Linked DNA regions of Homo sapiens: all the other regions are linked to region 1. Evidence: promoter capture Hi-C in 16 types of primary human blood cells and fetal thymus (Javierre and others, 2016). All regions are on one chromosome and are shown on one strand. The core of a region is centred on a gene start or on the middle of the fragment in contact, and the rest is flanking DNA. Distances in the headings are between cores, read along the strand shown. Region 1 holds the start of BMAL1 (basic helix-loop-helix ARNT like 1). Region 2 holds the start of COPB1 (coat protein complex I subunit beta 1). Region 3 has its middle 5.0 kb from the start of MICAL2. Region 4 overlaps MICAL2 (microtubule associated monooxygenase, calponin and LIM domain containing 2).

What was found. The method cuts DNA at HindIII sites, captures the fragments that hold promoters and counts their contacts. A CHiCAGO score of 5 or more calls a contact.
Region 2: a contact is called between the fragment with the promoter of COPB1 here and the fragment with the promoter of BMAL1 in region 1, in 1 of 17 cell types (fetal thymus). The highest score is 6.1, in fetal thymus.
Region 3: a contact is called between a fragment that was not itself captured here and the fragment with the promoter of BMAL1 in region 1, in 1 of 17 cell types (fetal thymus). The highest score is 5.8, in fetal thymus.
Region 4: a contact is called between a fragment that was not itself captured here and the fragment with the promoter of BMAL1 in region 1, in 1 of 17 cell types (M2 macrophages). The highest score is 5.2, in M2 macrophages.

Annotation. Positions count from the first base shown.
Region 1 is chr11:13,276,540-13,280,303 of GRCh38, reverse strand. It overlaps BMAL1 (basic helix-loop-helix ARNT like 1), which reads right to left and starts at 2,514. Exons shown (of 20, transcript NM_001297719.2): 1 at 2,381-2,514. RefSeq lists silencers at 1,504-1,843, 2,124-2,193, 2,264-2,913. The HindIII fragment of the contact is 3,232 bases long and covers 1,054-3,764 here.
Region 2 is chr11:14,497,717-14,501,480 of GRCh38, reverse strand. It overlaps COPB1 (coat protein complex I subunit beta 1), which reads left to right and starts at 1,670. Exons shown (of 22, transcript NM_001144061.2): 1 at 1,670-1,774; 2 at 2,496-2,643. The coding sequence starts at 2,553. RefSeq lists an enhancer at 1,449-1,548. The HindIII fragment of the contact is 3,446 bases long and covers 827-3,764 here.
Region 3 is chr11:12,103,723-12,107,486 of GRCh38, reverse strand. No RefSeq gene overlaps it. Among named protein-coding and RNA genes, the nearest start is that of MICAL2, 5.0 kb to the left of the region's middle. RefSeq lists an enhancer at 3,251-3,751. The HindIII fragment of the contact is 5,348 bases long and covers 1-3,764 here.
Region 4 is chr11:12,126,363-12,130,126 of GRCh38, reverse strand. The region is part of intron 1 of MICAL2 (microtubule associated monooxygenase, calponin and LIM domain containing 2); the gene reads right to left. Among named protein-coding and RNA genes, the nearest start is that of MICAL2, 18 kb to the right of the region's middle. The HindIII fragment of the contact is 2,625 bases long and covers 638-3,262 here.

The DNA.
Region 1 (3,764 bases), core at 1,265-3,764:
TCCTTTTCCTGCCCTGTGGCATGCAAACCTCTTCTGCAAATAGCAGACAAACTCGTAAGTAGTCATCATTTTATAAATCATTTGAAATGGATTCTTCAAAACACCATCTGTTGATCTGCTTAACTTTCTTATGAAAATAGGGCTTCAGCTCAGATATTCTGGAGGTGCCAGGAGGTAAATACCAACCTGAATTCAAATGTATTAAATATTTAGAGACTTACAGAACTTCAAAAGAGAGGAACCTTTGAGATCACCTAGTTCAACCGTCTTACTTTCCATCAGAGGCAAACACAACCTAGAAATCTTTAATAACTTGCCCCGACTGGAACGGCCATGAGAGCCCAAGCCTAAACTAGAACCAGGATGTCCAGCTCCTAACTCCCAGGTTAGTGCTTTTCTACCAGATCTGTTCGTTCTTCAGAGGGTTGAATAAAGAACAAATTTAACTACAGTTTTAACTTATTGTTATCATTCACTGGCTGCATCTACAATCAAAACCAAAATGCTTCTACAGAACCAGCTTCAGATGATACAGGCAATTTCAAATCCTGTCCAGGAAATTTCCAAACCTTCTAAATATGTTCTATAAGCTGCGTTAAAGACTTATCAGTAAAATGATCTGAGTAACAAAACATGGACTGAAAGACTGAATTTTGTATTTTCAAAAATATTTGGGAATTCCATTGATATGGAAATCAAATATAACACCAGCGAATTTTTTTAAGTCTTGCAAGCAGAGAGAGCATGATATTATTCAAAACTGCTCAGGAGCAGCAATGATTATTTTAAGCTCATGATTCAACGGGTACATTAATTAAAAACTCCACCAACCCAAATTCACAGATCCGGATATCAATGAGACCAGAAGAATTAAAATAATAGTTGTCATTTAATAATAGATTAAAGGGGTGAACAACAGCAGATGTCAGAAGGACAAATGACAAGCAAGCAGGTGTCGTGGGAAATGAATGCATCTAAGGGGCAGCTTTTATGGATGTTTAATAAAACGACGATGCTGGAAATACGGGTATACGGGTAGTGTCAAGAAAAGCTTGTTCACAAATACGGAATCTGATTTTTGGAAGCTGGGTGAGAAAACTTGGCTAATAATTCCTCGCTGAGGAGTAGCGGTGGAAGAAGGAAGAGACCGCAAGCGCCAAAGCGCCAAAACAACGCTAGGTGACCGGGAAGGGGCCGAGGCGGAGAGGGGAGAGGGGTCAGGAGGTGCGGGGTGCGCGGCGGCAGCGGGTCTCTCACCGGCCGGCGAGAACTTGACAGCAGGCGCCGGTGTCCAGCACTCCCCTTCCCTCCCCAGCTCCTGCCGGCGGGCACCTGAGCTCACCCCGCTGCCGGCTCTCGCGACCCCTCGGGGAGGCTAACATGCGCCCCACAAGGTCGACGTTCACCTCTACCTTCCTCGTCTTCTTCCAAGCAAACGGGAAGCTCTCTGGGATGTCAACGCCCGGCAATAGCCGAGCGGGAACCTTTTCTTCCCTGACATCTGTCAAACCCGGAGCTGGAGCCAGGCTCGCTGCGCCCTCCGCGGAGCTCTGGGACTCCAAGGCCGGCCCGCACCCGGGCTCCGGGCGACATCCCCAGGCCGACGCGCACCTGCCCGCAGACCCACGGGGCATCCTTGAGGGCCGCCCAGGACCTGGACGGCACAGGCCCCACGAAAGTTCGCAGGCTGGGGTCGGCCCCGTGCCGGCCGGGGATTCCCGGGTGCAGCGCCAGCCCTGGCTACAGGGCCGAAGGGGCGGGCGGACTTGGACTCCCCAAGCCCGACGGAGACGCCCTCCCCGCCCCCACCCAGCCTCGCGGGCTCCCGAAAGGGAAGTGAAGCGGGGAGGAAGGGCAGACGCGGCACCGTTCGCCCAACGCCCTTGAGGGGCAGCCACCAGGCATGGTCCCCTCGGGGATCCCCGAAGCTCCCGGGGACACATCTAGGAGTCCTCTTCGGCCGAGTCACTGCCCCCAAGGGCAGAGCTATCCCTTTAAGAGGCAGCTAGCTGCCCCCTCCCCCCGCCAGGTAGCGATGCCCGCGGAAGGGCGGTGGGTACTCCAGCGAACACTTTCCCGGCCCCTTTAAGGGCTCCTGCAGCACCTCTGCCTGCCCTAGCCCGCAGCGGCAGCCCCCGCGAGGAGGATGGGGGCGGACGGGCGCGGCGCCTTTAAGGGGCGCAGCCTCCCCACGGCCCGGGTGGGGGCAGGGAGCGGTCACGGGCCCTTTAAGGCCGGCAGCGGGCACGTCGGGCAGGGTTCTTCGGCGGCCGGGTTGCCCCCGGGGCGGCGGCAGGGGCGCAGCGCCCGCGAGGGTGCTAACGGCCCCCGACGGGGTGCGCGGGATCGCGTCGCTGGCCGCCGCCGGCCTGACACTCACCGTGGCTCGCCGGGAGCGCCCGCGCCCGCGCCCGCACTCGGATCCCGCGGCGGCGGCGGCGGTGAGTCCGGCGCGGGTAAACAGGCACCTCCGTCCCTGACCTACTTTCTGCCTTCCCTAAATGTCGCACCACTAACCTACTTTCCGACCAATCCGCTCCCCGCCGGCCCAGGCCCGGCCCCCCGCCCACCAATCGCTGTGCCCAACCCCCCTTCCCCGCCCACCAATGGAGGAGCCGCAGCGCCCGGATACCTGCCTCTTCCCGCCAGCCAATCCGAACGCCCGAAGGGAGCCGGTCCCGGCGGCCGCCCCCAGCCAATCCGCGCGCGGCTCGGCAGCCCGCTGGCCAGTTGTGTGGCGGCTAGAGAGGCCGCTGACCAATGGCGAGGCGGCGGGAGCCGGTTTACCTGCTACTTTCCTGCCACCAATCATTTGGCGCACAGGAGCGCACGCCCCGAGGAGAGGACCAATCCGCGCGCGCTCCCTGGGTTCCTCGCCCCTGCCCTCTCCCTTTCCCCTCAGGTCTCCCACTAGCCGCGGCCACTGCGGTGCCCAAGCCGCGCTCCTCGGGGTCGCCCGGGATGTCCCTCTTCTCTGGGTCCCCTGCCGGCTGGCGTTTGGCCGCCCGCCCTCACCCCTCCTCCTTCTTCTTCTCCCCTCCGGGCATTCCGACGAAAAGCAGCAGTTCCTGACTCCCTCTCTCCCTCCGGCTCCATCTAGGAAACCAATTTTAGGAACGTTGAGTGCCAGACCCTTCCTAAAATCCCTGGTTTGCCAAAGTCTCAACGAGAGAACGGATACTTAGTATTTCTAGAAGGCATTTCCACCCCGAGGACTGCAAGTGTTCTCACGTTCTTTGCGTTCATCATGACCTCCAAGTGTCCCACTGGAGCTGTCATTCCCGTAGTTCCAAAGAGAATACTCGAGCGCGGAGCGATTCCATTGCATTTCCTTCCAGTAGCCAGGTTTTGACCACTTACTGAAGAGTAGACACCAGCCCCGCGGCAGCGCTCTCTGCTGCAAAAAGCTGTCTACGGAGCAAGACGGAAGGAAACAGTTACAGAAAATAAAAATTTGATAACGACATGCGACTCGGTTGCTGAGAGGACAGAGAAAGTGACTTATTTTTGCATCTCAGGCACTTTGTAGAGGGCCTTTAGCACAAAGAACTCCCGGCTCTTCCAGATGTTAAACTCCCTGAATAGAAGGACAGCGTCTTCTTTTTCGTTATCCATCATGTCAGCTCTCCTTTAGCGCCTGCTGGGGTAGGGTGGAGTGGTGGGGGCGGGGCTGGCACCCAACAAGTGCACCATAAATATCTGTTGGCTGGATACATGAACAAATGGAATTAAATAAATTGGCCTAATTCTGTTACCCAGACTGG
Region 2 (3,764 bases), core at 421-2,920, 1.2 Mb before region 1:
TTTTTATACCTTTTTTGGCCTCATTTCTTGCTGACAGATTGTCACTTTTTGGTAAGTTAAGTGGGCTTGGAAACCAGATAACTGCATTTGTAAAACTTCCATGTTAAAAACGAATACACAGAAAAGGAACAAACTGTTGTACACACACCCGGGATTGATCTCAGGGGAATTATGCTCAGTAAAAAAATCCAATCTCAAAAGATTACATTGTATAATTCCATTTATATAACATTGAGATGATAAAAATCATAGAGAATTATTAGTGGTTGCCACAGGTTAGTGTGGGAGGTGGCTATGGCTATCAAAGGACAGCATGAGAATCCTTGTGATAGAACTGTTCTGTCTCGACTGTGTTGGTGATTACACACATATAAGCATGATAAAATTGTCTACAAGTGAATATAAAAACGAGTACATGTAAAACTAGTGAAGTCTGAACAAGGCTGGGTGAATTATGTCTGTCAATTTCCTGAAATTGATATTGTACTATAACTATGCAAGATGTTACCATTGGGAGAAACTAGGTAAAGAGTATATGGGATCTCTGTATTCATGTCACTCTACCATTAAGATTAAATATTAAAAAAAATGAATGCACAGAATCAGAGAGGCACTCTTAAAGTGCTGTCAACACATGGCCTTTGAATACAATTTTGGGTGCTCAAAGAATTTGTAGATTGCTTGATGGTTCTAAAAAGAGAAAGCTCAAAAGAGCTAGATCCTACATAAATGAGGTACTATTGGTGTTCCATCTTCCTGAGATGAACCTGTTAACTAGGGCAGTTGCCGTCAGATCTGTTTTTATTCGCAGTATTTTGCTTAAGCTTTAAGATATTTTGTTATTAATAATTGGCCATAAAACCCTTTTGTGGGCAGAGGGAGGTGTAGGGGCGGGGCGTGCTATGGAACTTCAAATGGGCAAAACCGAAAGTACTATGGCTGATTGCAGCTGTAACAGGTCTTTGGAGATACGTAAAATCCTTTAAAACAGTGACTGTCTCCCTTTATGCATAAAAATTTTTTCTAATCTACTGGGTGCTCAGAAAGGATCACGGAAAGAGGCCATTATTAAATAAAAAGCAGAAATTATACCAATGTGACTTTGGATTTTCAAATAACTCCAGCCCTACCTGCAGAGAGGCAGATTCAAACTACTAGCGATGTTAAGAACTGAAATGGATTTTAATCTAGTGATAATTAATAAAATAACTGAATTACCTTCCCAATAGTATTAGTTACTTTCCCAGTTTATTAGGGTGTGGACAAGAAAAAGGATTACTGGGTTTCCACTTTCTAGTCCAGAGCTCTTTTTCACGGGAACAGAGCCCTGTAAAAGTTTCCCTCTCTCCAAGCACTTTCTCCCCTTGACTGTTCCTGAAGAAGGAACGATTTCCAGTTAGCGTTTAAATTAGCATAGTGCTTAACTCAGAGCTTGGCTTGCAGGGAAAACTAGAAAATACGTGGTTTCATTGCTCTGCGGCCTAATCAAACCCTGGACAAGAGAAGAGGAAGAAAATAGGATATACTTGCAGCGCGCAAGCGCTGCACAAAGAAAGCATGTCCTCTCTGAGTCGCCGTAGGTGCTAGGTGGCTGTGGCTTCGGTCGTTACCCCACCCCCTTCCACGTCAGCCAAGGACTCTGGAGCCGCCGCCGCCGCTGCTGCGGTTCATAGCCGGAGTAGACGGAGCCGCAGTAGACGGATCCGCGGCTGCACCAAACCACTGCCCCTCGGAGCCTGGTAGTGGGCCACAAGCCCCCAGTCCCAGAGGCGTGGTGGGTCGGGCAGAGTCGGAAGAACTGGCTTTCTAGCTGGAAGATGCGGAAGGGGAGCGACTAGGCCGCTTGCGTCTGGGCCTGGCAGAAGGGACCGGGTGGGGGTACGGGTGGGGGTGCGGGTCGGGGTGGGGGCGGAGGGCTAGGAAGCTCCGGGTCGGACGCTCCATCCCGTCCTTTGTATTGGCCGGGGGTCTTTTCCCTCCCAAGACCCCTAGGCGTACCCTTTCAGGCCTAGGGCTGCTTTGCTGGAGGAAGGGGAGGAGGAAGCGGGTGGGGCGAGGTGGGGGTGCAGCGCGTTGATTAAGGGACCCGCGGACATAGAGTCGGAACCCACCAAGGACCGCGATAAAGCGCTTTAGGGTTTTGGCAGAGTATTCAGGCACAAGGTCTCTTAACTTGAGCATGCAGATTGTGTGTTGTGTAAAAACCATACGGTCCATAACATTGTGGGGTGTGGCTGGGGGGACTGTCACTGTTCTGTGGGCCTTCATTCGGCTATACAGCATTCTCAAACACTGGACCGGGATGCGATGAGGGAGTGATAGATAATATACCTTATGCCAGAGCTGATAATGTGGTTTTTACTAGAATTTATTTTTATGGGAACACGATATAGATTGACCTGCCCTTTCTAATACTTTAAAAGGTCACTATAGGTACTTGTTTGTGGGTTTTTTTTTTTTAATTTGTAATGATATGTCTGTGTTTATTTTTCTAGATTTTCTGGCATCCTTAAATCTTGTGTCAAGGATTGGTTATAATATAACCAGAAACCATGACGGCGGCTGAGAACGTATGCTACACGTTAATTAACGTGCCAATGGATTCAGAACCACCATCTGAAATTAGCTTAAAAAATGATCTAGGTAAACTTCGATATTATTTTGAGAATGAAATGAAAAAAGAAAAAACAAAAATAAAAAACTCATATTTCATATTCCTTTATAATTAGAAATGCTTAATTTTTGTCTAAAGTTTTTCTAGGATCTCTTCGATAGACCTTTTATTAAAAATGCGAACTTCTTTAAATATTGGTTGTTTGAAATAGAACATCTCAGTTTATCTTAGTAAACCTAAAGAAATTGTAATAGTTTAGATATTCCTCAAAATGTCATAATTTTTGTAGACTTCAATATATTAATGTGGCTGATTATTTTCTCTAGGCAACAGGTTGAGGATGTGTATTGGAATATCTTAATTCCATCGTGCACTTAACTTCATGTTACTTAGCTTGTAAAACCAAAAGAACTTTGTTCTTTGGATTACCCACCCAAACAATTAGGTGAACACTGGAATAAACATGTATTTTCCAGAAAAGTTTACCTTTTCATTTTTTATGCATTTTTGCAAATAAGAAAACAACTATATTTCTGAACTTTTTGTAATGTTTAATTTTTGGGGGTACACAGTAGATGTATATATTTATGGGGTACATGAAATGCTTTGATACAGGCATGCAATACATAATTATCACATGGAAAAATGGAGTATCCATCCCTTCAAGCATTTGTCTTCTGTGTGACAATCCAGTTACACTTTCAGTTATTTTTAAATGTCCAATTAAATTATTATTGACTGTAGTTACCCTGTGTGCTATCAAATATCGGGTCTAACTCATTTTTTCTGTACCCATTAACCATCTCCACTTCCCTACCACTACCCTTCCCACCTCTGATAACCATCCTTTTACTCTGTCTCCGTGAGTTTGTTTTGATTTTTAGCTTCCACAAATAAGTGAGAACATGTGAAGTTTGTCTTTCTATGCCTGACTTATTTCATGTAACATAATGACCTCCAGTTCCATCCATATTTTTGCAAATGACAAGATCTCATTCTTTTTTTATGGCTGAATAGTACTCCATTGTGTATATGTACCACATTTTCTTTATACATTTATCTGTTGGTGGACACTTAGGTTGCTTTCAAGTTTTGACTGTTGTAAACAGTGCTGCAACAAACATAGGAGTCCAGATATCTCTTTGATGTA
Region 3 (3,764 bases), core at 596-3,095, 1.2 Mb after region 1:
TCTCAAAAATAGAAAAAAGAAAGAGAGAGAGAGAAAAAAGAAGAAGGAAGGGAGGGAGGGAGGGAGAGAAGGAGGGAAGGAGGGAGGGTAGAAAGAATAAGGAAGAAAGGAAGATAAAGAAAAGAAAAAGAGGCCGGGTACAGTGGCTCATGCCTATAATCCCAACAGTTTGGGAGGCCGAAGCAGGTGGATCACCTGAGGCTAGGAGTTTGAGACCAGCCTGGCCAACATGGTGAAACCCCATCTCTACTAAAAATACAAAAATTAGCTGGGCATTGTGGTGTGCATCTGTAATCCCAGCTACTCAGGAGGCTGAGGCAGGAGAATCACTTGAATCCAGGAGGTGGAAGTTGCAGTGAGCCGAGATCGCACCACTGCACTCCAGCCTGTGCGACAAGAGCAAAACTCCATCTCAACAACAACAACAAAAAAAAAAAAAAAAAAAGAAAGAAAAGAAAAGGAAAGAAATGGAGGCCCAGAGATAGAAGGATGCTTCTGATGGTCACAGAGTGAGTGAATAAGTGTGTTCCAGGCATGCAATGTCCCTTTCTCACTCTTAGCATGACAGGCAAACTAACTCAATATCTTTATGAAGCAGGCTCAATAGTCTATATTTAATAGCCACCTCTTCCCCAGGCCACTTTTCCAGGATGCTGCTTGTGGAGGTTGTCTGGGAGATGCAGATGGCCACTTAGCACGAGAGGGAGGAAGAGAAGGAAGGCCCAGATTCATCCCTAAATATAGCTTCATCTCAGACGGAAGCAATGGCCTCCACAGCACTATGCATGCCTCCCCCTGAAAGAACCCAGCTGGTGCTCGCGGGCATCATCGTTTATCCACCTGATTGTGTTCAGAGGACTGTGGGGGTGGCAGTTCTGGCTTCCTTTTATTTCCAGCCTAGCAATATGCTTGAAGAGAGGTCAGAGTTGAACTAAGTGGACTCCTGATGGAGATTTTCTGTAATGAAGCCAGGGTGCCCCTCAAGATATTTGAATGGCAGAGAAGACAGTTGCACCGGGCTCTGGATCTCTTCCTGAAGGCCATAGATTCCAGAGAAGGGCAAAACAGTGAGTGTGGTTCTCACTGGCTTCCTCCCCAAGCTGCTATCAAAGTGCTTTGGTCTTTCGGAAGGAAGAGGAAGGCTGGTATCTAGACAGAGTCCAGTGACCTGGTTAAATGATGAGAAAGGGCTGATTGGCCCCGGGCACCTTGGGAGCTGTCCTTGGAGGACTTTCTAAGCCAGGAAGTGGAAACATTTGTATCTCCCACAGACAGACTCAGCAGTATGTGAGAAGCAAGATCCCTGGGGCCTTGTTCAAGCTCTTCATCATCTTTATAGTCCTCAGAACAAACCGCTTGTTCACGGATAAAACATCTAAAAGTTTTCAAGGTCACTAAAAACTCATCAGGCCTACCTCGCTTTAAGTGGCTTTTCCAGAGGTGGTTTAGAGAAAAATGGCACCTGTCTGGGACCTGCTGAAGTCAGTAATGCCCTCGGAGGCACCCCAGCACTTTGGTGAATGTGTGCACGTTGCCAGCAATGGTGAGAAAGTCAGTGCTGGAGAGCAAAGAGCTGTGGCTGCAGGCAGGAGGTGACATCCCAGCCAGATGTAGCAACCAGAGCAAACAGCGATGGAGTGGGTGTGCAGAAGAGAGGGGAAGAAACATAGGGTCATGTAAGTAGTCTAGCTTTAGCCCCAGATAGACTGGGGATTCACAGACAATTGTGAATTCCAGGGGCATAACATAATTCTGACCTCTAGAGATCAACTGATGCCACAAAACCCAGAGCACCCTCATGGCAGGCTGGGCCACACCTGCAGCCTGGGCAGATTCCTGTCCACATAAACCCGAAGCCCATTCCAGAACTGCTGTAACTGATGGATCTTGGGAGACAGCTTTCAACTTGTACTTCCAAACCCTTCCCAGAACAGCTGGCTAGAGGCAAGGACAGGAATATTCTTCTCTGTTCTAGTCCAAGGAGGGAACTCAATCAAGTTCATCTGTCTATCCACCCATCATGTGTCCACCCCAGAAATATGTACAGTGCAGTTAGGCTGGAGGTGTCATAGCCAAGCTATTAATAGGACAGACTCTGAAGTCAAGATGACTGGGTTTGAATCCCAGTTCTGCCACTTATTAACTGTGTGACCTTGAGCAAGGGAGTTAACCTCCTTGTGCAGCAGGTAGTAGGGGAATAGTAATGGGGAGATGCATGCTAGAACAGCGCCAGGCACATAATAAATCATATGTAAGGGTTTGTGAGTAAATATACTTGGTGATGATACCACTAAGGGTATGGAGAACTAGAGTCTGTAGGAGGCATCAATTCTGTAAGCAACTCCTGGTCAGGGACTTGCCTAGTCCCCAGCCTCAGACTTGTGTGTATGTTATAAAGGCAGGTACTATTTTCATCCACTCCTTAGAGATGAGAAAATGGGATTTTGGAGAAGTGAAATCACTGGCCCAGAGTCTCCTAGGGGCCAGCATCTGGCAAAATGAATCGAATTGGTGGACTTCCAAGCCCGTGCTCTTTACAATTCCCAATACTGCCTCCCCAGATCTATCTGGGGTGCTGGGGGACAGCGAGGAGGCTGAGGGGAGTGGGAAGACTTCACAGAGGTGGCATCCCTTCCACTGAGCCTTGAGAGATGAGTGGCAGGCAGATGGGAAGGAGTATGGTGAGCGCTCAGGACAGGCAGCAACTGAAACACGGAATCAGGGATGAGGGGCAGAGCCAGGAACTGCAAGAGATTCCTTCCTTCATTCATTGAGCAGATGCTGACTGAGTGCCTGCCATCTTCCATGCATTATTCTTAGTGGAGGGGATGCAGCAGGGAATAGAACATGAAAGTAATCCAAGATGAAGCTAGAGAGGTGGCAAGAACCACACAGGGGACTGTGGAAGCTAGTTGTTGTATGTGGAGGAGGGAATGAACTGGCCAGCTCCTCCATTCCTCCTTGTTTTGGTAACATCCCTGCCCTCCTGGCTACAGAACTGGACACAGTTCCCAGGCCTGGTGAAACATCAAGCCCCCATGGTGAACAGTCCAACAGCCAAGCGCCTGGTCCAAGCAGAATTCGTTAAGACCAGTGTGTAGATACACAGTGAGAGAGGCTCTCTTTCCATGAAACTTAGGGCTACCAAGAATTGTGTGCCAGGTGCAATGGAGGAAACCTGACCACAAGAAGAGAAAGAGAGAAAGAAACTCCTATAACTGAAGACTGCAGGGGTGAAAGCTCCAGCCACCTTACTCTGCAGTTGTCTCAGCTCTGCCCTCCTCTCTGTCAGCTTCTCTTCAGACTGGTTTTCCTCATGGTAGCAAGTGTCATTGCTCTCATTGCCACACGCTTCCTTATCCAAAAGAATATTTCTGGCCCAGCATTCCAAGCATGGTCCTGAGCTTCATCGGATTGGAGTGGGTCACATGCCCAGTTGAACTGGTGCCATAGCCAGAGGAATGGAATGTGCTGATTGTCCATGCCAGTCAAGGCCCCCTCCTAGAGCTGGGGTGGACTCAGCTTCCCTGAGACACCTGGGCTGCATGGGAGAGGGGGAACACCTGAGTGAACACTGAGAGCAGTTAGGAAGGGAGGAAGGACATGTATACATATGTCAGGTAGATCTAGCACAGGCAGTTGATTTCCATATATGCCACTGGCTTTCTAATGCAAATATCTCGGACTCTGCCTGAGGGTTCTCCCCTAGCCTCAGCAGTAAGCTCAGCCAATGCACAGGGCAGACCAGAAATACAGGTGATTTA
Region 4 (3,764 bases), core at 701-3,200, 1.1 Mb after region 1:
GGAGTGGGGATGATTTGAGCAACTCCAATAATCAGCTCTGCTCAAAGCCATCACCATGTGCTTAGTTCGGGAGTAACAAGACCTGGGAACAAAGGGTGAAAGTAGAATTGTATAGCCTGGGCGCAGTGGCTCACGCCTGTAATCCCAGCACTTTGGGAGGCCAAGATGGAAGGATAACTTAGAGTCCAGGAGTTTGAGACCAGCCTGGGCAACACAGGGAGACCCTGTCTCAACTAAAAACAAAAGAAAAAATTAGCCAGGCATGGTGGCGTGCACCTGAAGTCCCAGCTACTCCAGAGGCAGAACTGGGAGGATCATCTGGGCCCAGGAGGTTGAGGCTGCAGTGAGCTATGATCCCACCACTGCTCTCCAGCCTGGGTGACAGAGTGAGACCCTGTCTCATATAAATAAATGAATCATAAAATTAAGAGAAAAACAAATGAAAAACTGTCCACGTAATTGAGGACCACCAAAAAAAAAAAAAAAAAAAGAAGAAGAAGAAGAAACAGAGTAGAATTGTATAAAGGTCGGCTGGTCACCACATGACCTCCTCCCAGTCCTCTTTAGGAAAAGGGCTAAGGGGGAAATGATGAATGGCTTTAGGGGAAGAGTCAATCTGAAACTCCAGAACAAAGCTTTCTGGGATAGGAAGGGGGGTGCGTGTTTCATTACCTTCCACTTGCACGTTTTGGAGCAAGTTATTCAACCCTGCAGAGCCTCAGTCTCCTGACCTGTTCAATGGGGACAGTACCCAGTAACCGCACAGGGTAACTGTGAAGACCAAATGAAATATGAATGGGAATGTGTTTGGCAAACTGTAAAGCACCTTTGGAAATATCAGACATTTTCCAAATCCTGAGAGGTGGGGTCTTCAGGTCAGAATATGTGGCTTGAAGGGTAAAAGAAAACCAAGAATCACTTCTTTTGGCCCAAGTCTCTATTGACAGCTTCTAGGACAAGGCACAAGTCTTCAGGGATTTTAGAAAGATGCTGATTGAATTCTATTCATGGTCTTGTAAAGGGGAGACCTACACCCACATCTATATAATAAGGCAAAACAGAATGTGTTACAGAATGATCCTGCAGAGAGGATGGACATTCTACCCTGACCTCAGAGATTAAGAAGGCACTTACAATAATACTATAATATAAAAATAATATAAGAATTGTTAACATAATAATAACTCTTTCAGAGTGCTTGCTATGGGCCAGGCACTGTTCTAAGTGTTGACATAGCTTCTCTGATATTCTCATAACAACCCTATGAAGCAAGTTTGCAGATGACAAAACTGAGGCACAAAGAAATTGACTTCTATCTTGGACTTACATGGCTGGTAAGTGCTGGAGCCAGGATTTGAACTTGTCAGGCTCTGCTCCTTTTGGGAAACCAAAATGGGTTTCAGATAGACTCTGAGAGGGTGGCTGAAAGGCTCTGATAAAGCCTGCAGGGCTGAGTCATTGAAGAAAGGTACTGTTTCACCCACAGTGTCTCCCACCCATGCTTTCCCCACTACATTCACACTGCCCCGATCTGTCCTGGAAATTGGCCATGCCTCTGCTCTCCCTGCACCTCTTTGTGGGTACCTAATACCAAGGGAGACTGATATGAGAACCTATATGTCAATGTTTACATTTACACAATGGAACACTCATGGATTAATCCCAGCTCTGCCATTTACCAGCTATGTGACCTTGTCAAGTCTTAGTCCAGGGCTTCTGCTTCCTCATCTGTAAGATGTGGTTAACACTTATTATCTTGGGCAGTTATTGCAAAGATGAAATGGGATGTGTCTAGTGCAGCACCTGGCATGTTGCAGTCTTGATAAACAACTGTTAAATAGGAAGACTTTACAAAGGATTTCCATTGCAAAATCATTTTCTTCAAGGTAAGATCTGGTGGTAACAGTAGTACTTTTAACTAGTATTCACCTGGTTTTCATCTGCCACTAACCTACACCCACAACATGGATGATCTCATTTAATCCTGAAAAGCGCCATTATTTTCTTCATTTGACTTGGCTTCAGGACAAGAAAGGATGTCCCTAACACATTAATTTTACACACACATACGTATATGCAGACAGAGGGACAGATAGTAGAGCAAGACAATATTTTTAGGCACTTATTATATGTCAGGTGCTAGTCTAAGTATTCTACATTCAGTAACCCACTTCATCCTCTTGAAAACGTGCCTGAAATGGTAAGTACCATTTTATCTCCATTTACAGATGTGGAGCTTGCAGCACAGTGAGGAAAGTGTCAAATGAGTAGACTTTTTTAGTCTACAGTGGTCATCTCCTCCTGAATCTCTGCTCCCCTGTCTCAGCCGCCAATATCCTATCCCCTACAAAGCCACTAGGGAGATCTCCCCACACATGTCACTCCTCTGCTCAAGAGCACTCAAAGACTCCCTACTGCCTAGTCAAAGACCCCCAACAGGTCGAAGAGGATCAACTGTGGGCTCAAGATCCCAGTAGGATCTGGCCTTGCCTCCTTCCCTGTGCTCCCAAAGTCCCAGTGACAGGGTGAGTCAGTGAAACCTTCTCTAACCACTCTGTTTAAAATTACAGCCCTCCCCGAGCTGCTCCCCTCTCCATGCAGCACACACCATCTCCTTCCCTGCTTTGATTTTCTCCACCATACCTCTCATCACCTGGCCTCCCACGCATTTAGCTCACTTGTTTATTGTCCCTCTCCCCTTCTGGGAATGTGGCAAGGGATGTTATCTTGTTTTGTTTTTTTCCCTGCTGCAACCCAGCACTGAGAGCAGTGCCTGCCACAGAGTAAGAGCTCATAAATACCTGCTGAATGAATGAATGAGCAGACATGTAAAATGCCTAAGAAGAAAATGTCCCCATAGAGCAATGGTGAAAGAATGGCTCCAGGAGGCTGGAGGCTAGAGATGCCTAGACTGAAATGTCCTGGAGCTAGACCCTTTCTTGCCTATCTTCCTGAGATTTACAAGAGTTCCCTGTGAGACCCTGGGCCTTCATCCTCCCATCCCTGTTCTGAAGTTAAACACACTCCAACTCAATCTCTCTCTCATTAAAGCCTCTTTGCATCTGTCCTAAACTCACCTGCCTAGCCTCATTTCCCGCTGCCCACCTTCAAAGCAGGCAATTCCCCATTTCTCTTGGCCTCAACACCCACTAGAGATGCTCTCTTCTTACTCCCAACTTATCCATCTGCACTGCAACTACCCATCAGGATCCAGATCAAATGCTGCTGCTGCCGCCACCTCTGCTCCCTCCTCCAGGAAGCTTTCCAGGCCCTCCCTAGCCCACAGAAAACACTCCCCACACCCACCGCTGCCTCCTTCAGGCAGATGGACATTAGTCATGAACTACCTTGTGGTTTTTCTTCTATGATTGAGCTGAACTGTTGCGAAAATCTCCTGTTACTTAATTTTTTTTTTTTTTTTACACACATAAGCCTTGCTTTCCCAAGCCCACTGTAAATACTTTAGGAGGAGAAGTTGAGCCTTATGCATCTTGTCATCCCCACAGCACAGAGCCTAGGGCACATAGTAGGTGTTCAATAAATGCTTCTTAATTGCCCAGGGTAAATAAGTCACCTCCCCAATCAGGTCACTTCCTCAATTATAGGTACCTGGACTGGCCACTCCCAAGAGGCTGCATTTTTTCTTCAGAGCCAGCTGTGATCTCAGTTACCTGCAAACCTCACCATGGGCCTATGTTTTCAAAGGATGTTAGACCTATTCTAATCTCACTCCACTGAACTGGGCAGACGAGATGATTTGTAAA